7 separate regions of the Homo sapiens genome follow, and regions 2, 3, 4, 5, 6 and 7 are each linked to region 1. The links are contacts of gene promoters, found by promoter capture Hi-C in blood cells and fetal thymus (Javierre and others, 2016). All regions are on one chromosome and are shown on one strand. The core of a region is centred on a gene start or on the middle of the fragment in contact, and the rest is flanking DNA. Distances in the headings are between cores, read along the strand shown. Region 1 holds the start of NUS1 (NUS1 dehydrodolichyl diphosphate synthase subunit). Region 2 holds the start of TSPYL1 (TSPY like 1). Region 3 has its middle 82 kb from the start of ASF1A. Region 4 overlaps MAN1A1 (mannosidase alpha class 1A member 1). Region 5 holds the start of NT5DC1 (5'-nucleotidase domain containing 1). Region 6 overlaps FAM184A (family with sequence similarity 184 member A). Region 7 has its middle 100 kb from the start of ASF1A.

What was found. The method cuts DNA at HindIII sites, captures the fragments that hold promoters and counts their contacts. A CHiCAGO score of 5 or more calls a contact.
Region 2: the fragment with the promoter of TSPYL1 here is called in contact with the fragment with the promoter of NUS1 in region 1 in 5 of 17 cell types (non-activated CD4 T cells, naive CD8 T cells, total CD4 T cells and 2 more); the score reaches 15.0 in non-activated CD4 T cells.
Region 3: a fragment that was not itself captured here is called in contact with the fragment with the promoter of NUS1 in region 1 in 1 of 17 cell types (naive B cells); the score reaches 5.2 in naive B cells.
Region 4: a fragment that was not itself captured here is called in contact with the fragment with the promoter of NUS1 in region 1 in 3 of 17 cell types (total CD4 T cells, total CD8 T cells and activated CD4 T cells); the score reaches 6.6 in total CD4 T cells.
Region 5: a contact is called between the fragment with the promoter of NT5DC1 here and the fragment with the promoter of NUS1 in region 1, in 2 of 17 cell types (non-activated CD4 T cells and activated CD4 T cells). The highest score is 6.4, in non-activated CD4 T cells.
Region 6: a fragment that was not itself captured here is called in contact with the fragment with the promoter of NUS1 in region 1 in 1 of 17 cell types (non-activated CD4 T cells); the score reaches 7.8 in non-activated CD4 T cells.
Region 7: a fragment that was not itself captured here is called in contact with the fragment with the promoter of NUS1 in region 1 in 3 of 17 cell types (M2 macrophages, monocytes and M0 macrophages); the score reaches 7.7 in M2 macrophages.

The regions. Positions count from the first base shown.
Region 1 is chr6:117,673,458-117,676,816 of GRCh38, forward strand. It overlaps NUS1 (NUS1 dehydrodolichyl diphosphate synthase subunit), which reads left to right and starts at 2,012. Exons shown (of 5, transcript NM_138459.5): 1 at 2,012-2,628. The coding sequence starts at 2,214. LOC101927919 (a long non-coding RNA gene) reads right to left here and starts at 1,827. Exons shown (of 3, transcript NR_110854.1): 1 at 1,640-1,827; 2 at 1,190-1,378; 3 at 1-625. The HindIII fragment of the contact is 6,476 bases long and covers 1-3,359 here.
Region 2 is chr6:116,278,655-116,282,002 of GRCh38, forward strand. TSPYL1 (TSPY like 1) reads right to left here and starts at 1,276. Exons shown (of 1, transcript NM_003309.4): 1 at 1-1,276. The coding sequence starts at 1,176. It also overlaps a transcript of DSE not described here. RefSeq lists enhancers at 640-689, 710-979, 1,210-1,269. The HindIII fragment of the contact is 6,415 bases long and covers 1-2,605 here.
Region 3 is chr6:118,809,952-118,813,352 of GRCh38, forward strand. No RefSeq gene overlaps it. Among named protein-coding and RNA genes, the nearest start is that of ASF1A, 82 kb to the right of the region's middle. The HindIII fragment of the contact is 4,389 bases long and covers 1-3,401 here.
Region 4 is chr6:119,314,136-119,317,634 of GRCh38, forward strand. The region is part of intron 2 of MAN1A1 (mannosidase alpha class 1A member 1); the gene reads right to left. Among named protein-coding and RNA genes, the nearest start is that of MAN1A1, 34 kb to the right of the region's middle. The HindIII fragment of the contact is 2,493 bases long and covers 135-2,627 here.
Region 5 is chr6:116,099,108-116,102,424 of GRCh38, forward strand. NT5DC1 (5'-nucleotidase domain containing 1) reads left to right here and starts at 1,746. Exons shown (of 12, transcript NM_152729.3): 1 at 1,746-1,916. The coding sequence starts at 1,824. It also overlaps a transcript of FRK not described here. RefSeq lists enhancers at 1,406-1,928, 1,929-2,449 and a silencer at 1,562-1,821. The HindIII fragment of the contact is 3,203 bases long and covers 363-3,317 here.
Region 6 is chr6:119,072,066-119,075,171 of GRCh38, forward strand. The region is part of intron 1 of FAM184A (family with sequence similarity 184 member A); the gene reads right to left. Among named protein-coding and RNA genes, the nearest start is that of MIR548B, 4.5 kb to the left of the region's middle. The HindIII fragment of the contact is 1,135 bases long and covers 913-2,047 here.
Region 7 is chr6:118,788,159-118,791,164 of GRCh38, forward strand. No RefSeq gene overlaps it. Among named protein-coding and RNA genes, the nearest start is that of ASF1A, 100 kb to the right of the region's middle. The HindIII fragment of the contact is 3,743 bases long and covers 1-3,006 here.

The DNA.
Region 1 (3,359 bases), core at 762-3,261:
CACGCCTGTAATCCCAGCACTTTGGGAGGCCAAGGCGGGCGGATCACCTGAGGTCAGGAGTTCAAGACCAACATGGTGAAACCCCGCCTCTACTAAAAACACACAAAAAATTAGCCGGGCGTAGTGGCGGGCACCTGTAGTCCCAGCTATTCGGGAGGCTGAGGCAGGAGAACGGCGTGAACCCGGGAGGCGGAGCCTGCAGTGAGCTGAGATCGCACCACTGCCCTCCAGCCTGGGCGACTGAGCGAGACTCCGTTTCAAAAAAAAAGGAAAAAAGAAATACAGAAGATAGAGCCTGTTTGTGCCTGCACACCTGAGAGCAGGCCACGGGAACATGAGATTGATGTCTTTAATCTTGTCAGAACGGATAGACATTGGGGCAAAGAAATGAGTACGGTAGAGAAATGTGGCAACATAGTCGGCATGGGGGGTGGGGTGGGGTCTGCAGAATACGTGGCCAAATCTCAATGGGACACTGGTGTCTAGGGAGCTTCCTTAACAAGCATCATGTAGCTGCATAAACTACAGCAATGGGCAGTGAGGAAGAAGACTGTAGGCTTCCCTGATCATGGCCTTTCGCCTCTCCTTCTTTGTCCATCATCAGAGGAGCTACCGCAGAGGAGACCTGGAGAGAAAGAAGTGTGTGAAGGGTGTGCCTGGTGCCCAGCCCTCAGTTCTTCAGGCTGCACTGCCAAAGGGAGGAAAATTGCACTGCGAAAGGGAGATGGACATGAGATTCAACTTTTAAAGTAAAGTTAAATGAGTCTTAGAAACCAAAATGAGACTAGTTGAAAAAGTGACAATGTTAGAAAAATTAAGTCACATAGCCAAGACGTGAACAGATGTTTCCCAGGGGGAAAAAGAGGCTTTAGCGAACAAAGAATAGGTAGGTATTACAAAAACGCAACTGTTTACACACACACACGTGTGTAAATATGTGTGTATACGTGTGTATGTGTACAGTTGCATTTTTGTAATACCTCCCTAATCTTTATATATATACTTATATAAATATAAATGCAAATAATATAAATATTATTGTTGCACACACACATATATATGATGATAGAGGATGTAGCATGTAGGATAAACCTTGAGAAATGGGTTGGAATGTCGGCAATACCAAGTCGGGAATCAGGAATTCAGGAGAAGAGCTTGAACAAAAAGGGCAAAGACAGTACAGACTTACCGCGGGGAAGTACAAAACCATTCTAGAGGACCACGTCGAAGTCCACATGGACAGAAACATTAGGGTGTTAAAGGGGATGATAAGGCTTGGATGGGCAGTTTGCTTCAAATAGTGGCGGTCATTGAAGTCAGGCACAATTTCTATTTTTTTTCCCCACTGTAAACCTAACCCACGGCGGTTGGTCAAAGTCTTGCCGAATAAAAAAAAAAAAAAAAAAAAAGAATTAAGTGACTGGACTGCCAAGCTGTAGAGCCTCTATTAAGCAATGTACAGCCAGGAAAGGATACCTTAGATGAGAATGACATGGGTAGAGGGGTGTTTCAGGAACATGGCTAAAGAGCCTCGCTCCCAGCCTCAGCCGGGAGGCTGAATAAAGGACAGTAGCAGGATCACTCCAGCCTTTGAGGACACTTTTGGAAACCCTGGTGGATTCCCAGCATCAACACTTACTGAGGGCTGCTTTCCATCCCTAGGTTCTTTCCGGCATTTGTAATTTCCAATCCACTTAGGACACTTCTACTCCTCAGAAACCGTTTCTGTCGGGGCCGTGAGAGGAGACAGTATAAGACTTCCTGGACCCAAGGGACGCCGGGTCCCCTGGAAGCGCCCATCGCATTGAAGACCACGTGTGCCTTGCTGGGGTCCCATTCAGACAAGTCCCGGGTCGTTCGCTCATCGCCCTCCACGCGACCAGGGGGCGCCCGCGGTATCGGCCCGGCTAGTTCGCAGGCGTGCGCCTTCCCTCACTGCGCCGGAACGGGCCACGTTCTCGGACCCAGAAGCCGCGTCAGAATTCCACGCTGGCCAATCGGAACTGTCCATGTACTACTGGGGGCGGGGCTGCCAAGGGAGGAGGAAGATGGCGGCGGGGGCGAGGTGAGGTGTTGGCAGTGGAAAGGGGTTCGGGCTCGGGGGGCGGGGGGACGCGGAGCGATGGCCCGCGCCGGCCGCAGGGGCGGATAAAAAGCCGTCGCGCTGCGGGAGTGGGCGGGAGGGAGAGGGGGTGTCTGAGGGCCACAAGAGTATGACGGGGCTGTACGAGCTGGTGTGGCGGGTGCTGCACGCGCTGCTCTGTCTGCACCGCACGCTCACCTCCTGGCTCCGCGTTCGGTTCGGCACCTGGAACTGGATCTGGCGGCGCTGCTGCCGCGCCGCCTCTGCCGCGGTCCTAGCGCCGCTCGGCTTCACGCTCCGCAAGCCCCCGGCAGTCGGCAGGAACCGCCGTCACCACCGGCACCCGCGCGGGGGGTCGTGCCTGGCAGCCGCACACCACCGGATGCGCTGGCGCGCGGACGGTCGTTCCTTGGAGAAGCTGCCTGTGCATATGGGCCTGGTGATCACCGAGGTGGAGCAGGAACCCAGCTTCTCGGACATCGCGAGCCTCGTGGTGTGGTGTATGGCCGTGGGCATCTCCTACATTAGCGTCTACGACCACCAAGGTGAGGCCCGGTGCGGTGGTGGGGGGTGGCCGAGGCGTCTTGGACCGCTAGACCGCTGGTCTGGCGGGTGGTGCCCATGGCACGAGTTGCCGCGGCCTCTCTGCAAATCACAGCGCTAGCGCTTTCGAGGAAGGGAGATCAGCTTTATTGAACACCTACTAATTCTCTGGATTTGACTCAGTAGCTTTTTAACATTTTAAAAATATCCCTTGGCCGGGCGCGGTGGCTCATGCCTGTAATCCCAGCACTTTGGGAGGCCGAGGCGGACGGATCACCTGAGGTCGGGAGTTCGAGACCAGCCTGACTAACATGGAGAAACCCCGTTTCTACTAAAAATACAAGTTTAGTCGGGCGTGGTGGCATATGCCTGTAATCCCAGCTACTAGGGAGGCTGAGGCAGGAGAATCGCTGGAACCCGGGAGGCGGAGGTTGTGGTGAGCCGAGATCGCGCCACTGCACTCCAGCCTGGGCAACAAGAGCGAAACTCTGTCTCAAATAAGTAAATAAATAAATAAAAATAAATAAAAAATCTCTTATTCGTTATAATACTGCAGTAATGTAGATGGTATTTGTATACCCTTGCCAAGGTTTAAAAACATTAACTGATTTGCCCAAGGCCACAAGATCGTAATGGGGCCACAAAGATCGGAATGAGGATATTGGAATTTTAGCCATTCTGTGCTTTTTCACAATCTTTGCCTTTGGTTACACCACACTGTTTCTTTAAGAGA
Region 2 (3,348 bases), core at 26-2,525, 1.4 Mb before region 1:
AATTTTGTCGGACTCTGGAAGGCTGTGGTCTGAAAACCAAGTGAAGAAGCTGCAGATGAGGTCTTGGTTTCTGCGAATGAAGGACTGGGGTTCATGCCCCCTGCGCCATATAATTGGAGTAGAAAGAGACACCACTCGGCCGGAGGATCTTACCTCATATTCCTTGACAATCAGCTTGTTTCTGAAGTAGGGGTTTCTTCTAAAGAAGAACTTGAACTTGCAACCGGTTCTAGGGTGTCTGAGTTCCTTCACCTCTAAATTGGTTATGTACCTTAACATCTCTGCATCTTGGCCCCTAATCATGGCGGACAACTGGGGGTGGTTTCGAAAAGCAGTCATCCAGAAGCCCGGGATATTCTGAATGATGTAGTTCCTCCGCTCCAGGTAGTGTCGACGCATCCGCCCAAACTTGTGCTCCAGCTGTTGGAAGGCCCTGTCGGCCTGAGCATTCACAGTGTCCAGTTCCAGCTGGATGGCCTCCAGAGGGTCCATGCGGAGAGCCTCATGCAAAGGCCAGGGCCCTTCTTCCTCCCTCGCCTCCTCCTCCAATCTATCCTCCTCCGCCACTTCTATTTCTTCACCTTCTGGCGGCTGCTCCTCTACCTCCATCTGCTCCTCCATTACCTCCTTCTCCGCCAGGCCTTCCTTCACCACCTCAGCGCTCTCCCTCTCAGCCACGGCTGCTGAGACGGTGGCGCACTTTCCTGTCTTCACCTCCTCCGCCTCAGCCTCCGCCCCCGCCGTCAGCTCAGACGCGGATCTCTGGGCGCCACAGATTTCTAGGGCCTTCTCTCCACCCTGAACGCCCTTTTTCAGGCTGCGGTCGGCTGCCATCACCACAGAAGCGGCTGCCAGGCCTTCGGCGGGAGGCTGGCCCTCTTCCTGCCCGGCTTTGATCGCCACATGACCGCGACCCCCAACAACTCGGATCTGGGGAGTACCGCCACGGCCCGCGGCATCCTGGGGTACGCCCCCCTCCTCTGAAGGCGGTGGAGGCGGGAGCGCGACGGTCTCCGAGCCTCCCTCACCCGGCTCCGCCATCACCTGTGTCGCCTCGCTTTGGTCGCGGAGCCTCAGGTACTGGTGTGCGTCCTGGTCGCTCGGGACTTGGTCAGAAATAATGATGCTGTGGGTTTGGAGGGGAGTGGTCCTCTTGACCCCATCCAGGCCGCTCATGTTGCTAACAGTCGGACCAACCGCAGGCGAACGCCCGTTTTCCTCAGAGGCCGAACTGGGAGCTAACCGCCGCTCGCACCGCCCACCCTACAGTCTCACTAACATTTCAGCGGCGGTGTCGTCAGGACTGGAGATCTCACGGTATCGCGAGAACTTGCTGAGCCCGGGATTGGTTCCGCCGCTCCCTGCCAGCCAACCGGATTCTCTGGGCTTTATTTCTGTGAATTTACCCATAGCAACAGTAATTTTACCTACGTAAATAAATGTCGATTGTGCTGAGTCTGGAAGCGCGGACGACCCACCTTGAGATGCATCTAGCGACTGCTCCCAGCATGTAGGAGCAGTTGTAAAATCACAGCCGTAACAGTGCCTGCTCTCCAGTGTCTGAAAACAAATGTTTTTCTGGTCTTCACTTTTTTGAGGCAGGAAGGTAAATCTATTCCCTGTTACTCCACGTAACTAGCAGCAAAAGACTTCTCTTTAAGATTAATAGCAAAATGTTTCCCCCCTTCTTAGTAAAAGTGACATAAAAATATCAATTCTTGCCTCTACGGTTACTGGGGAAAAAAAGCTACTCAGCAGCCTCTTACCACTAAAGCGATGCATAGTATTCATTGCTAATTTTCGATTTATAATCTGCATCAAATAAGAGTTTGTGCTGCATAGTATCGGTAGAAATTAAGCCAGGATCAGTTTGCTAAATGTTCCATGCCTTTTCACTGCAAGAAAGAGGAAATTATAACTATTTCCAGCCCCAAGAACTTAATTTATTATCATATTTAGTTATGTAAGATAGGAATGTTTGGCTCTAACGAAGCATCTGTCTTTAGCAATCAGCTGAGTTCATTAGAGGGGGATGTCAATGTCTCTGGTTGAAGTGTTCCAGTTTGTTGACTTGTGAGTTAAACTGGTGCTGTCTTAGAGAGCTACAAGGCCTCAGAGAAATATCAGTGGGGGGAGCCACATACCACCATTTTGTGAGGAAAGGCTAGTTAAAATGGACAACTAAGATGGCCTTGAAGTAGAAAACAAACTTGCAAAGGGCAACATGCAGCTGGTGGACTCAAGGTATAAAAGAGGCAAACGTTATTTTCTACTTAATTTGCTTTGTGTGGTAGTAGCCTGATGGCCCTCAAAGATGTACCTGTCTTAGTTATGCGGCCAAAGGGACTTCGCAGATATGATTAAGTTAAAGATTTGGAGATGAGAAGATGATTCTGGATTATACAGGTGGGCCCTATGGAATTACAAATTTCTTATAAGAAGGAGGCAGGAGGGTCAGTCAGAGAAGATAAGAGGACGAAAGCACAGAGAGAGGGAAGGAATGGTGGAGAATAGGTGTGGGAGGGAGGAAAGGGAAATCGCTATGTTGCTGGCTTTGAAGATGGAGGAAGGAGCCAGGATCGTAGGAATAAAGGCAGCCTCTAGAAGCTTGAAAGGTAAGGAAATAGATTCAATCCTAGAGCCTCCAAAGGAATGACAACACCTTGAGGTTATTACCTCTAAACTCCAGCACTATAAGAAAATAAATTTGTGCATTTTAAGCTATTAAATTTGTGGTAATTTGTTACAGAAGCAATATGAAATGAATACACCTTGGATTAAGGTTTGGTTGCATCTATGGGTGCCTCAAGTTGTTTCTAATAGCAGCCCCTTCTACCTTGCTCATGGCTTCCCGTGAGTTCCTGCCCAACAGCTGTGATGTATTACAGCTTGAATCTGTCTTTCAATATCAAGACCAGAAATATACTTAGGCAAATGCACAGAAAGACAAAATTAAAGCCTAAACATACCACAAACGATATCTGAGGAGACTGTAAACTGCAAGAGGACATGATCATGGTTTCGTTTCCCTCTGTTTATCGAGTGCCTAGCACACTACCTTACACAGTATCCCATAGATTATTAAAATGTTAAATAAAGGAGCAAATGAGCAGAAAACAGTTTCTCTTGCTTGCAACTTGCTCCTTGCGGAAGAGAAGTAAGGGGCATATGGGTTGTCACTCTGCTCTCCTTCCTATCTGCCACTGGCAAACCAGAGGGCTGCTCTATTCTATATAGTAACAGTTTCCTACTCAGGAGAATGAATTTCTATATATGTTTCAAAGGCTCTAAAAGGATAGGAAAAACACAGAGAAAACAATTTTATTTTACAAATAATTTAAGTTTGTG
Region 3 (3,401 bases), core at 342-2,841, 1.1 Mb after region 1:
TTCAAGCGATTTTCCTGCCTCAGCCTCCCAAGTAGCTGGGTCTACAGAAGCGTACCACCTCACCCCACTAATTATTGTATTTTTAGTAGAGGCGGGGTTTCACTATATTGGCCAGGCTGGTGTTGAACTCCTGACCTCAAGTAATCTGCCCACCTCGCACTCTATGTATTATTGAGCACTGAAAAAGTTAGATCTCAAAATAGTAAGCAATATTCCAGCATTGGTTTTGCTTATCATGAAAACTGTAAGTTAAACCAAGTTTGTTCCCACATAAAAACACACCTGATACAAATGCTTGCTTTCTGTCGGTTCACCTCTACCAAGGAATTGCAATTCCAACTAAACATAAAGAAGAGTGGCCTAAAAATAATTTGCATTCACAAGATATAGAAATTACTCATTTCTCGGTAAGTCCTGGCCCAGTATGTATATCCCATTTCCTCCCTTAAACTGTATCTTGCACCGGACTATTCACAGACACAATTTTTTAAAATTTAGTTTAATATCTGTCAAGTTCACTTTTATTACAAATATTACCCTTAGATGCATTTTCAAGCCTTTAAGGAAGAGATGTGGCAGTGGAACAGATACAAGAACTACTGAGTGTGTCATAAGGGGCGGTTGCCACCACTTCCTGTGCATGTCCTCTGAGTGACAGTGAAGAGGATGTGTGTGGGTAATGGCTCCCCGTATACCTGGGGGGCTATGTCACATGCAAGACAGAACACTGACAGGAACACCCCAATTGGAGTGGGTACTAATGTGAGCCAGGGCGCTTTTATCTTTCTTGAATGTTAATAAGGAAAGCAAGCTCAGAGGATGGTTTTGAACACTGAGGAAGAAGCACTGGCTTAGCTTCCTACATTGTGATGTTAATAGGTTTGGAAACTGGTTGTTTGGTAAGTTGCATCTGAAAGGTTCACCAGGTCCCAGGAAGTCTCTAGTGACCTAGAATTCAAGGTTGGATAGTTTCTGAACTCCTAAATATTGTGAACTGGCTAAAGGCAAGCTCTCTGAGTTAACCTAGGATTTTCTCTAGCATTCCACCCGTTAAGCAGAAGGTTTAGCACATGGAGAAGGAACAGAAATCAAGTATGCCTACAGAATGTGTAAGTTTGTTAGAATTAAAATTTGTCAACCAAGAATAAATGTTTAATGTTTTGGTATACCTTCAAAAAAGTTTAAAATTTGCATTAAGCCACAGAGTTAAAGATATCAGAATAATATGTTTGTTTTGCTCATATTTCTATAAGACACCAAAAATTACAATAAAATTCCTATTATACATTTTAGAATACTACATATGCACTGAAGATTAATCTTTTACAGTATCAGAAAATTCCATTATCTCATATAGTTACAATAGAATTTAAATTCTGGTTTAGCCCTCTCACAGATAAAATTAAGTATAGTTTTTATTGTGTTTAGATAATTTTACATTATTAAAATGTTTTCAAGAAGTACACTGGGACTGAAATCAAAATATTTTGGCAACTTGATTCAGAATTAAAGGTTTTTTGTTTGTTTGTTTGTGAGACAGGGTCTTACTCTGTCACCCAGGCTGGAGTGCAGTGGCATGATCTTGGCTCACTGCAACCTCCGCCTCCCAGGTTCAAGTGATTCTCCTGCCTCAGCCTCCCGAGTAGCTGGGATTACAGGCGCCTACCACCACACCCAGCTAATTTTTGTATTTTTAGTAGAGACGGGGTTTCACCATGTTGGCCAGACTGGTCTTGAACTCCTTACCTCAAGTGATCCACCCACCTCAGCTTCCCAAACTGCAGGGATTACAGGTGTGAGCCACCGCACCCGGCCAAAGGTTATTTTTTACACCTCTCTTTATTGAACAGAAATGTGACCTGTGAGACTGTTCATATTCCCCCAAGACAATCCATGTGCTTCCTTGATACACACATTAAAGACCATACAAGAGAAAGTTTTAGTCATCATGAAATCACGTCTATAACAAAAGTAGGACACAGCAGGATAAAACATGACCTCAGGACATCAAAACACTTTCCAGCTCTGAACCTACTAAACTTGACCCAACAGCAGTGGAAGAACTTTTGCCCATTAGTGACTCTCCTGAACAGGTGACCCTGAGGCCTAGAGTTTGGTCTCTAACACTACTGACCTTCAAAGGAAACAGAGTACCTTGGGGATAGCTGACTCCATGACATGGAGCATGAAGAAATCAAAATGGGTATGGAACATCCTGTTGTTTTCGGATAGCATGGATGCTTTTATAGAAGCATCAGAATGATGAAAGGACATTCAGGTCAACATAAAGGGACTCTGACCAAGCTGTGAGACTGAGCATTAAATATAAGCACAATGAGGCAGTTATAACACATAACAGTCTGTGATAGAAGTTTAACATTTTAGTAAGAAGGATGTTTATACAGGTTGAATATCCCTAATCGAAAAATCCCAAATCCAAAACTTTGTGAGTACTGACATGATGCTCAAAGGAAATGCTCACTGGGGCATTCTGGATTTTGGATTTTCAGATTTGGGATGCTCAACCAGTAAGTATAGGTATAGTGCAAATATTCCAAAATCCAAAAAAATCCAAAATCCAAAACATTTCCAGGCCTAACCATTTCAGATAAGGGATATTCAATATGTATTGGGTATTTTATTTCTTCTAATAATTATGTCTGTTTAAAATATTTAGGTATGTAGTTATTTCTATCTGGGTAAGTACCAAAGAATAAACATATGGAAGTGGTAATTTGGCCAAATCTTGACAGAAGGTACTAAAATGGAAAGTGGATTGATTAGCACAAAATAATAGGATGCATGGTGGGCACAAATTATAACCAGGTAGAAGGTGGCATTGGCAGTCATACACAATGACCAAGGAAGAAAGACAATTCAACATGTAATTTAAAATATGAATTACTCAGTGTCCTAAAGAGACAAGGTAACTATGAAAATTAAATCTCTCATTACTAAAAATGAAACCTCTAAAACCAAAAGTCCCAATAAAGAATACAAATATTTTAAATAACATAACAGATCAAAATACCCTAATGACATGCCAATAGGTTAGGTACTGTCAGCCATGCAAAACCTAATACATAATTACTGCAAAAGATACCAAGTTTCAAAGACAAAAATTCATAAGACATGGACTTAAAAATTTACCATTAAAAAAAGTCAGCTCCACACTGTGGCTTAGGTTTGAGTCATCCTCATCTAAATAATCAGACCACGCCCAGATCAAGATTCAGCTGGTCAAAAACCCACTTCCATTCCTTTTCCTTTAGTTCTGGTAAGAACACTGAAACCCAGGAAAGCAATAAAACTGAAAGATTAGGAATATATTAAGAATCATAGTATACTGGTAAATTATTAAACAGGTACAGAAATAATAAATTTTATAATCATTGTTTATA
Region 4 (3,499 bases), core at 131-2,630, 1.6 Mb after region 1:
CTATTCCACTTCTAGCATAGGCTGCCCTTCAGGGCCAGCTTCCCGGACTGCTCTGGTAGCAACATATGTGCTATCTCTTTGCCACAAATTAGCAAAAGTCTTTGAGATCTGAGGTGCATAAAGCATTATGTGTAAGCTTCTCAACAATTCTTTCACTGGATGAGCAGTAGTTTCACATTTTAGAAGTATTATTTTGTTCTACAAATCAAACTGTAGGAGCTGTCGTCATCATGGGTTATGGAGGCCGAGGCTGTAAAGGAGGAAGTGAATTAACTTTGTCAAACAGCTACCACACTGCACTGTGAGGGGAATTTGATATAATTTAACACATCCAATCCTTACAACACCCTCTCTGGGGTATTATTATCCCTGTTTTACATATGAAGCTGAGGCCCAAGGTAGTGTAGAGAAGAGCAAGGCTGGAAACTCTCTCACGCTGATTTTCTCCACTATACACTGAACAGAGCCCTCACTTTTTTGCTGCTTGCAAACCTCAGACAGTCATCTGAGGCCTCTGAGCCCTCCTGCTCCTCCATGCACAGAAGGCAGCTCTATCTGGGGTCTGAGAAGCTGTGGCCAGGCCTGGCACCAAAATGACACATGCCGAATCAGGACTGGGAGCTGGCTCAACTGAAGACCCTCACAGCACCACCTTTCCTTGCCTGCCCTACATCCTTCAATTCTCACAGCCTTCCTCCTCCTCCACTTCGGCTCTCAGCTCCAGCTCTGTACCTAACTTTTCTCCTCCTGCCCTGTATGCTACTGGGGCAGACAAGATGGTGTTGTCCTATTCGACCTGGCCTGTCACTAGATTTATGGAAAACCATGAATTCCTCTCCTCATGCCAAGCTGCTGTCTACAGCTCTGATATTTTCTGAAGTTTACTACCACCACGGGAGCTAATGTGGACCAGCTTCTCTTTCCTCTTTCTGTATTACTCGACTTCTTGTTGCTATGTGTGCAATTCGTTTGTTGCCAGGTACTCGAGGTTGCCTCTTATCTACTGAGTGGAGAATATATATATATGGATGGGGATTTTCTTCAGATTGAGGTGTCCTGAATTCTCCTACAGCCAATTTTAATGTACTTCTAAGTTGGCAGGAGATATATAAAGAAACAGTAATTATTTAATGCTATTGCATGAATTCTAATGTGCCACTGAGCATTAATTCCCCAGTGAAATGAAAGCGTGGTTAGCAATAGCAATTTCTTTAGAAAAAGAGTCAGAATGACTGATAAAGCCAGTTTTAAAAAATGAGAATTCTAGTAATCACTACTTGTAATGGACAGATTGTTCTGTTTCTAAGAAGTATCTCGTTCTCCTAAGGAAAACCCAGTGTTTCCAGTTCTAGCTAAAAAAATTGGATCATATGCATTTAATGGTTCTCTTTTTTTATGGCCAAATTTTGACATTATTTTATAAAAACTCTTGTGCTGTTACCAAATGGCAGAGGGTACAGGGGAAAAGAAAAAGAATAAAGAAATACTTGACCAAAATATAAGTCCATTTCTCTAAAACATTCTAAGGGATTATAATTTAGCAACTCAAAAGTTAGAGGTCAGAAAAGGGCTTATTCATAGGTGAATATCTAGTCCATTCCTTTTTGGAAGGAAGCACTATTGCTGAGAACACTTTCCTTACATAGAACAGTTTGGCATCAGCTTAGGGTCTACCATTTGTAGTTATTTCCTTATCAAAAATATCTGTCTTGTGGTTGATGACTATGGTCTCCAGGCAGAAGCTGTCACTGAGTTCAGAAGTTGTCACTTTGTGTTTAAAGGTTTAACCTCAGGGTTTTTGGTCTGTTTATTCGGCAGATTTTTAATTAACACGGAAACTTTGAATTCATTAGATTAGCTGTGCTAAGACCTCTGTGGTCAATGTGAGGCCAGCAAGTGACCCCTTGCAGGCCTGTGGTGACAGGTGATCTCCCTCACTTGGTCCCCAGGCCAAGATCTTACAGGGCTTTCCCAACATGGGAAGCATCAGCAACTACAGATCTTTAGTGATCAAGAGAAAAAGATATTCATTTTTGTGGGTTTTTTTTTTTTTTTTTTTGAGATGGAGTTTTGCTCTTGTTGCCCAGGCTGGAATGCAGTGGCGCGATCTTGGCTCACTGCAATCTCCACCTCCCGCGTTCAAGCGATTGTCCTGCCTCAGCCTCCTGAGCAGCTGGAATTACAGGTGCCTGGCTAATTTTTGTATTTTTAGTAGAGACGGGGTTTCGCCATGTTAGCCAGGCTGGTCTCGAACTCCTGAGCTCAGGTGATCTGCCCACCTTGGCCTCCCAAAATGCTGGGATTACAGGAGTGAGCCACCATGCCCAGCCAAAAAAAGGTATTCCTTGCTGGGATATCACAGATGCTCCCTTAATATCCTAAGGAGAGCTAAAAAAGTGTGCCATAGAAAACAAATACTATTTTCATGTAATGTCTAATCTCAAAAGTTTTTTTTTAATACTTGTAATAAAAAGGTAAGCCCAAACATTCTAACTCATACATATATCATTCCACAACTTCAAATTTTCACATTTTAATTTTTGCAGCAGTGACAAAATGATTTTTAAAATTGAAATGTGCTATCTTTAAAAGATTTGTTTATAGATTTGTCAACCTTATAAAGACTAAGCTTTTTCTTTTAGATTCCTTTTTTAAACTTTACAAATACTATGAGGTTATCACTAGTATTACTAGTAGTTAATAAAGTTACTAATTATTTAGTGATCGATGAAAATGAATTAGCTTGAATTTCATTAAAATGAGCAAAGTCAGATATAGTTACCTTTTTAAATTACATTTTTTTATTATTATTATTCTTTTTTTTTTTTTTTGAAACAAGCTATCCCTAGAGTCAAGCCCCATTCTTCAGTTAGCAAGAGGAGAATTGTAGGGCACAAGTATTTCCCTTTTATCCTTTCTTTTGTGTGTGTATGTTTTCTAAAACAGACTTTTTTTTAAACAGAAGTTTTAGATGCACAGCAAAACTGAGTGGAAAGTACAAAGTTCCTATATATCCTCTGTACCCCAAAGGCACAACCTCCTCACTATCAACATTACGCACGAGAATCGTACGCTTATTACAACTGATGGACCTACACTGACACATCATTACCACCCAAAGTCCATGATTTACATTAAGGCTCACTCTTAGTGTTGTATATTTCAATGGTTTTGACAATGTATAATGGCATGTATTTACTACCATAGTATCATAGAGTATTTTCACTGCCATGAAAATCCTCTATGTTGTGCTTATTCATCCCTCTCTCCAATCCCCAGTAATTTACTGTCTGCATAGTTTTGTTTCATCCAAAATATAATTGGAATCACAAAATACGTAGCCTTTTATATTGTAGCCATGTTACTTCTTTCACTTAGCAACATGCATTTAAGGTACCTCCATGCCCTTTTATTGCTTGATGGCTCATTTCTTTTTAGTGTTGAATAATATTTCTTTTTAGTGCTGAATAATATTCCATTGTCTGGATATACTGCAGTT
Region 5 (3,317 bases), core at 496-2,995, 1.6 Mb before region 1:
GTTATCGACCCAGGGGTCTTTTTCTCTTTAAGAGTGCCCTGGTTCCCTCTCTCCCCTTACCCCAAGTCAATTTCCTGTTCACAATTCAGCACACTCAAGAGGTTTTGTAAGGAGAAGTTTTTGCTAAGTCAACAAAAAACAATCCTTTTATACTCTTCCCTCTTACAATGAATGTACTAGTACATTTGTATTACTAAGGGAAGTCCCTAAAGTACCTAAAGCACCTACTCCCACATGAAACAAGATATTCCCCAAGGAAACATGTGCCCTTCAATGTGGCATGCACCTGGAAGTTTGACTTTGGTAGCATTCTATTGCAAGGTGCAGAGGAGAATGCCAAGGTCAATGCTCCAGGGCCAACAAGCTTTTTCCAGCCTCTCCAACAATCCAGCCTTTTCTCTTTTGGTTCACAGACATTGAAAACATGATTGTTGGACTCATCAGTGAACAGCTTAATCTTCTTGAAGATTCTTTACTTTTCCTATTCCAGAGAGATTTGTTTGGGGCTTTTAAGTGTTATAATGGAACAAGTTATCAATTTTATTCAAATGGGTCTACTAGGTATAAGTGTCCTCCTACTCAATTGTACTATCTATTGCACTAAATTAATCCTCTGATTGGTCTATTAGCCTCAGAAGGATTAGTATTTGAAAGGGTTAAATGCAGTTCTCAATCAATTATATTTTCATTATGTCACGACTATTGATTTGTCCCATTAGACACATTGTTCCTTTAAATTGAGAACTGAAGCAGTGTAAACATAATAGATTTGTATTTTCTTTTTAAAATGAGGTACTATGTAATAAAGATCTCAAAGTGCTAGTCCTTCACATCCGGAAATCAGGAAGAGAATTAAATGCCCTAAGGCATACATTGTATGTAATGGATTAACTTTCTCTGCATCTAAAATGGTAGTAGTTATACAGTTCTTGAGAGAATTAAGCAAATGTCACTCAAAACATTTTGTGCTCTATAAACCTTAAACCCGGTTTGCAAAAGTTTTTTGTAGTATGCTCTATATATTTCTATGAAGTTTCTGATGCCCTTTCATAAAAAATTCATTACAATAACAAAATAGGATTATCAAGTAATAACCAATATTGGTTTCCATAACAAGTATCATCTTGCAAAATGGTTCTTCACGATGTCTGATACATTTATTTTCTAACGCACTCCAGGGTATGAAATAGTGAAAGGTCTGTCTTCCACTTAACCACTTAGGAAACCAAGGAATATAAAGTTTTTGGTTTAAACCACTATCAAAGATCACGTGGGTGAAAAGACCTTCCAAATTGTAGGCTAACTGGGTCAGAGGGATATTAGCGGATGAATTTTTTCTATGATCTTACTATTCCTCACACAGGGGTAAAAGGTCAGGTCTAACCTCATGATCTCCTGGTTTCCGAGGCGCCCTGAGGCGATGGAGTGTCCCGGTTAATTTTGTGGTAGCCCTCGGGAAAGGCTACGTGCCTACAGGTCTCAGCTGTGCAGCAGCGGCACCGCTCCTGGACCCCTACTGCCTTCTGGGCTCCTAGGCTTGCGGAACAGATCAGGAGTCGCCGGCATTGGGGTACCAGGAGGACGCGAGCTGACTACCTGACTCCGGGCGGCGCAGGACGCCCGCCGCGCGAGGGGCGGGGGCTAAGCGTATCGAGGGGCGGTGCTCGAGGGCGCGGGAGGCGGGAGAGGCTGCCGCGCCGTGTGCCCTGGCAGCCGCAGCCCCGCCCCGCCGCGTCCGGCCCGGTCCTGTCCCGCAGCGTCCCGCCAGCCAGCTCCTTGCACCCTTCGCGGCCGAGGCGCTCCCTGGTGCTCCCCGCGCAGCCATGGCTCAGCACTTCTCCCTGGCCGCCTGCGACGTGGTCGGATTCGACCTGGACCACACTCTGTGTCGCTACAACCTGCCCGAGAGCGCCCCGGTGAGTGGCGCGGGCTCCGGGGCGCACTGCGCGCAACCTCCATGGCGGCTGGGGCTTGAGTTTCCTCCAGGTTTGGGCAACGGCGGACGCTGCCCGGGGCCTGCGGCGGCCGAGTCTTGCCGCAGAGCGCGGCCTCCAGCGGCGAGAAGGGGCGGAAGTGTGCAGCCTCCGCTCCGCGCCGGTGCCGTGGGGACCGGCACATTTACCTCAGCCATTAGCTAATGTTGAGAGGGATAGGGAAGAACGAAGGAGGGGCAAACTGCGCAAGACCGGGCTGGGGAATCGGTGATTTCTAGGGCCGAGGAGGGGCGGGGTCAGGGGGACTAGGGCTGTCCTTGAAGATCTCACGTCGTGGAACTTTCTCTGCATGTCTTTCTGGACACCAGCTGATTGTGGACACAGCCACTTGATTTGGTACTTGCATTTTTTTTGGCTGCATTTTTCTGTTTGCACGATCAACCACCCATCAGTGTTTAAACTGCAATCTGGGAGAGATGCGTAGTATATAGTGTAGTGTATTGAAAGGAACACTAGTTGAAAAGTCATTAAGATCTTAGCCCTAGTTTTACCTTCTATCAAGAGAAGAAAATACATATTTATTGCGCATCGACTACGTGCTCCGTGCACTTTGAATACATTCCAGTCCTACCAACAGTCTGCGAAGTTTGGGTCCTCACTGTGCCCTGAGGGAGGGGGACATGGAGTATGCATGCTTCCAGACCTGTACACTCAAATTAATTGCCCTCCCTCCACTATTCCTTTGGTTTCCCAATTCCCAAGGAAACTAATTTTGAAAAGTTACCAGATTTTTTTAGTCCAAGATCTAAGCATCCAGACAGAAAAAGAGCTGGTTATGAGTACAGTGGTGAAAGCGAGGACTCCTCAGCCAGACTGCCTAGCTTAGGACACCAGCTCCACTGTTACTAGCTCTGTGACTTCGAGGAAGTTACTTAACCTGTGCTGCTTCTCAGTTTCCCCATCTGTAAAATGGAGCTAATAATTGGATTTACCTCACAAGATTGTTGCAAGGATTAAATGAGTAAGAGATGTATAATGCTTAGAATAGTACCTTGGCAAAGACAAGTGTTTGCTTTTATGGTTACCACCCAAACTATTTGGAAACCTCACAGTTTATGGGTAGAACTCTAGATCACTGGTGCAGACATCAGCCAGGGTTGTGCCCCATTATGGGCACCCGCCAGTTCCTGCACCCACCAGTTCAGGTACACGTTAAAGGTCAAAAAAGAGTGGCTGCCCGAATTTCTCGTGTGTTTTCTATGCCCAGATGCTAAATTTTTTTTTAAATGTCCTTTTTCTGCTGTTACACTTTCCTGCTTTCTTACCTTACAGGTCTGGTTTCCTTAGTCACATTGAGAATTAAGAAGGCTTTTTTACTGCTTG
Region 6 (3,106 bases), core at 230-2,729, 1.4 Mb after region 1:
TGGCCAGGCTGGTCTCGAACTCATGGCCTCAAGTGATCTGCCTGCCTTGGCCTCCCAAAGTGCTGGGACTGTAGGCATGAGCCAGGGCACCCAACCTAAACCTTTAACCTTTAACTCTAAATCTTTAACTCTAAAGGAAGTCCCTTTATAAGTTTGTGACCAGTTAATTAACAGGATACTATGCTTTTGTGTCCATTAGTAAAATGCAACAAATTAATCCAAACCACTCCACTATGACTAAAAGATTACATCCAAGCCACTGCATAACAGCATGGCAAAGCTACAATGTAACAAAGAAAAAGAGATGCTGCATTTGGCATGTACTAGTGCTAAGGTGAAACACAGCCAATTGCTATGTTTTATGAGGCCACTTACCATTCTTGTTCAAAGACTCAAGTCATAAGCAATATAGAATTATTATGAAAGAGTATCTAGATAATTCAAACAAACCAATTAGTGAAAAATCATTTATTTCATGTACAGAAAATAGTATTATTTGAAAAATTCACTGGTTTTGGTGTTATATAAACACATTCTGGTTTTGGATATAGTAAAAGCAGAGTTAGTATAAAATGACTGATCACAAGGCTTTTTTATATTTGCTAAGAAACTAGTATATTAATTACCTACATTCTGAAGTGTCAAATACTTATAATGTAGACAAAGAACATTATATTTGTATTTTTTACATCAAAAATACATTAAGAAATAAAATAGCTTTTTGAAGCAGTTTAAAGGGCAGTCAATAAACATTTACATATTTAGGAATAATTTAACTCAGCTGAAATGATCTATCATTAACCCAGAAGAGTAGCAGATACAATTCCTAAAAAGTACTGTCTTTCTCTGCTGTATAACAAAATTACTTGCTGTATCATTATGACCACCATCTTCTTCAGTAAATACTTATTAAGCTTTGGTACTATGTGCAAACCATTCATATTAAGGTTACATGTAATAAAAGATACAGTCCCTAGAGCTGAGAACCTTACAGTCAAATTATGAAAACAAAGTATATTTATAAACACAATAAACAGTATTTGCAAGTTTGCATTATTAAGTATCAAGTAAGAGGTACCAACAATCAATGCTAACGCACAGCAAGGAAAGCCCAACAAGGGTAGCTGGTCAGGACAGTTTTAGTAGAAGAGCCATAAGCTGGGTATTAAATAAGAGGACTTGATGCTAAGCACAGAAAACACAAAATAAACTACTTCCTGCTGTTTGGGAACTTACACTGTACCATATATTACTTATGTCTATACTAGTTAAGTGATAAACAGACTCTGTATCAAAAGTGCAATCAACTAAAGAGGGATTTGATAAGCAGCTAACATAACAAGGTATTAAAAGGGAAGTTTCTGCTGAGAACCAGAGACGATAGAAATGACATTCCAAAGCAGCTGCCAGAACATTCTCGAAAATGTCAAGAGGCAGTCTAAAGAAGAGTGCTGAGATGTGTTACTTTCCACCCCCACCACTAGTGAGGTGGTGCTTCAAGAAGATTACAGAGTAGGTTTCAGAGATTTCCCTGGGGAGAGCTGTGGTAACAGGGGCCTGTGTCTTCAAGGGGGAAGGGTGGAAGATGCTTGTCCCACACCTAAAGCCTAGGGAAAAAGGCTTTGAGGGAATGACTTGAAGAACTTGACATGTGCCTCAAGCACTTTGAAGAACATGCTAACCTGGTACCTGATTAATCCCCAGAAAATCTAAATGATGAGAAGCTGCATGAAGAGGCATGTGAGAACAAGAGAGAGGGCTGAACTGGGACCACTAGCAGAGTTTGTGCAAAGAATGAGTGCTCCCTATGTGGCCTCTACGGAAGAGTGAACAACCTGGGGTGGGATCACACAAGTCCATGCAAGAGGGGTATCTAGAGTTTGCACAGACCTCAGCAAAGTGGAGGTGAAGGTACTGCTAGCTCCAAGAGGCTGAGGAAGGAGTAAGCAACCAATCAGCGCATAAGGGAATTCTCACTGTCAAGGAATTGAGGTGAAAATCTAGAGCCACTGAGGTGGGAGGTAGAAGATTCACCAGTGAAAGAATAAGCTTTAAACATCTGCAACGGCTACAAAAGCACTGAAACTAGATCACCAGCTAGCTTCTTCACTAATCAAGTAAAAGTTTGCTGCTCCTCTTTACTCTTTTCACTTCTTCCTTGACCAACTTTGGAAGGGTGAGAAACCAGAACTGGCAAGACAAAGCAGGAAGAGTAGAAAAACCAGGTAAGAAGTAAAAAGGCAATAATACCCCCTTCCCTAGTTACTGGTTTCCCCCTTGCAAGAGACAGAGCAAGAGACCAGTTAAGGGAGAAGCTTCATCTTTATTTCAGGCTTGGTCTGCAGTTTTTACTTGTTGGTACTGGGCATTTTAATTTTAATAATCAAATTGAGACTTTTGTGACTTTGTTACTGAAGGATGATTTGTATTATCTAAAAGCAACCAGAAAAATTAAGTTAACCCATGAAAGAGGATGAACCAGTCTCAAAGAGTAAATTGAAAGAGACAAAAAGGGAAAAAAAGTAATTTGAAAGTGACAAAAAAAAAGCTTTTATAATTACATCCCACAAGGCCTGCTTTTCAACCTGATATCCTGAAAAGTCAACACAGTGGAGAGCACAGAAGTATACAAATGTGGTCTTATAAAACATAATTGAATCCATCCAGCTTCACTGCCTATCTTGAGATAGTTCAGCCATTAACATTTGCAGAAACTTGCCATAATGTAGCTCAAGAATCTAATATTAATTCTTAAAACTTGACACGAGTGACCCAAATATGCTAGACTTCCTTTAAAAGGCAGGGACTGTGTCTTGCTCCCTGCTGTATCTGTAACATTTTCCAAAGTCTCCCTTACATAAAAGGTGCTTAAAGAACTGGTGTTCTCCTTACCATGAGAAGGCAGCTATGTTAGGCTCTTAGGAAATAGGATATGAACAAATATGCATACAGCAAAGACTGCTTTTTAATTAAAAATATATTGAGCTTTGCTATGGGCAAAATTATAATCTTTATTACTTTTCATGCTTATCCTTTCATAGCCAGCCAAACCTTTGAAACATGCACAATGTATTTTCAGAACATTCTACCACAATGCAGAATAAAT
Region 7 (3,006 bases), core at 184-2,683, 1.1 Mb after region 1:
TACAGGGTTATGCATGATGTAAGAGAATAATGACAGGAAGCACATGATGAACTGGCACTCAGCAGCAGTGAGAGAGTAATCCATGACCTCAGCTTCCAGCCCGTGGGGCTTCATACATGTCCACCGGAAACCTAAGTTAGGAGTGCACTCTCCAAGTCTTCCCCATGGGGGCTCATTTGAGGGATGGCTGCCATCCAGCCTATATTTCCAGGAAATGGGACTTCGATTACTTGTAGTGTTAACTTTAAAGGAAAGAGATTTTGATGATTCTTTAAAGGGAAAGGACATTTGAAGAAATGTTGAATGAAAATATAGAACAATCCACAACTCGGCTGGGCGCGATGGCTCACACCTGTAATCCCAGAACTTTGGGAGGCTGAGGCGAGCAGATCACAAGGCCAGGAGATCAAGACCAGCCTGGCCAACATGCTGAAACCCCATCTCTACTGAAAATACAAAAATTAGCCAGGTGTGGTGACATGTACCTGTAGTGCCAGCTACTCAGGAGGCTGAGGCAGGAGAATCACTTGAACCCGGGAGGCAGAGGTTGCAGTGAGCCAAGATTGCACCACGGCACTCCAGCCTGGTGACAGAACAAGACTCCATCTCAAAAAAAAAAAAAAAAAGAAAAAGAAAAAAAAAAAGAGAGAGAGAAGAAAAATTGACAACTCACTTTCATTTCCAGTCGCGTGGCCCTTGCTGCCACATGTGCACCAGCTATGAAATTCCCTGTGGTCTGTGAGCAGGTGGTGGAACACCTGCTAAATGAGCTACTCACTTACACATATCCAAGCACCTCTATTTTCCCACAATTCACCAAACCCCTCGGCCCTGTTGGTGCCTTGGGTTGTGGAAGATTTGAAAACAAAAGTGTATTTACAAATTCATCCTCACCATTACATGGTATAATACTATATTTTCCCAGCAGAATTTTTATTCATTGCTGCCTTCAAGAGTGTAGGCACATGCTAAAATATATGAGTTCAATAGCTTAATGTTGGTTTCGTCTATCATTAGAGCTGAGTTGGTAAAAATTATATAGTTGAGAAGCCATTTGGAAAGGCAGAGATGCAAGAAGACCAGAGTCAGAGGAAAGGGTAGAGAATGGAAAATATCGGTTCATGAAATGACGGAATTGATCCAAGTCACTGTGGCTAATCAAGAAGGCCCAGTGAAGGGTGAGAAATCTGCAAATCTTCCTTTACTGGTGTATTTCTTCTTATTCAGCTGACCTCATTCTGTTCAGGTCACATCGCCCAGGCCTCTTGAACTGTACAGGAGGGAAATAAAGAGACCAGTGATGAGACCAAGGGAAGGAACTGGGCTTGGCCTTGGAGAGTGCACCCACAGAGGTTCCCAAAAGGAAAGAAGACACAGTTTACAGTTTTCAATCTGTTTACTAGCAGTCTCTGGCATCTTCTACACACAGTCAAACCAACCACAGCTTGCCCTCCCGTCAGCCCAGGCAGCTGCGGACCGCTTTCTGATTGATGTGAATCCTCCTCACTGCACGTCTCCTCATTCTTACTGATTTGGCCAAGCCATACTGCGGTTTTATTGACAGACAAGATTCATTATCCAAAAGCATCAGGTTTGTGTTGGTTTGGTGGCTTGTAGAACAAGGTTTACTTCTTGTTGATGTGATTTTGGTGTTTTTGTTTTTGGTGTGAAAAATGTGACAGGTTTTTTTTTTTTTTTTTTTTTTTGTTTTTTTTTTTGAGACAGAGTCTGGCTGGGTTGCCCAGGCTGGAGTGCAGTGGCACAATCTCGGCTTACTGCAACCTCTGCCTCCTGGATTCAAGCAATTCTCTGCCCATCCTTTTCTTTCCATTCATTTATTGAAAGTTGGATTGAGTGCCAGCCACTGTCTATTGTCTCTAAAAATGTTAAAATTCCCCTACATCATGTCGATCCTATGTTAGTCTACACAGTATGTTTAGCCCCTCTGAGCTCATAAGAAATGAGCTGGTAAAATGAGAGCACGAGCTCCTGGGTATAGAGAGAAAGGAGACTAAAACGTCTGTGAAAATGAAACATTTAATTAAGCTGACTGATTTTAAACTTTTTCAAACATGAAACATATGGCTCTATAAAGCATGGAACAGGAAGCCAAAAAGTGACAAGCTGGTCAAAGTTTGATTTTCTTTCAAATCTACAAACAAGGCATTTAAATGTTAAAATGATTCAGACCCACGACTGGGATGTTCCCTAATTTATTTTTCTCTTTAAATGGTCAGAATACAGGCCAAGTATGGTGGCTCACTCCTGTAATCCCAGAATTTTGGGAGGCTGAGGCAGGCAGATCACTTGAGGCCAGGAGTTCAAGACCAGCCTGACCAACATATGGAAACCCCATCTCTACTAAAAATACAAAATATTAGCTGGGTGTGGTGGCACAAGCCTGTAGTCCCAGCTACGCGGGAGGCTGAAGCAGGAGAATCACTTGAACCTGGGAGGGTGCACTGAGCCAAGATGGCACCACTGCCCTCCAGCCTGGGTGACAGAGTCAGAATGTCTCAAAAAAATAAAATAAAAGGCCAGAATACAGACCTCTTCAGGGCCTCAGGCCATAAGCACTTTCAGAATCCTAAACACAATAAAGCCTCCAGAGCCAGCACTTCACCACCTTGCATGTAGAAGGTACTAAACACACGAGTTGAAATTTATTTAAAAAAAAATGCTGGACATTGTTTTTCCCTGGAATACATGATCACACTTTTTAAGACTCTCTGAATTGCCTATAATTACCGGAAGGCCTCATGTTTCACACTAATAATTCCAGCATTAGTGGGAAGCTCAGAAGACATAAGGAAAGACAGAATTCATTATTAATGAAAGTACTGCCGCCCTCGGAGGAAACATGTGTGTCTAATGCCCAACTGACTTCATCTTTTCGTCAATAAGTCCATGCTCTCTCATCATTGATGGCATCTATTGGTCGGCTCACTGGAGAGGACCACAGCTAATTAACAAACACACTTTGGCCTTAATGAAGCTGCTGTTTCC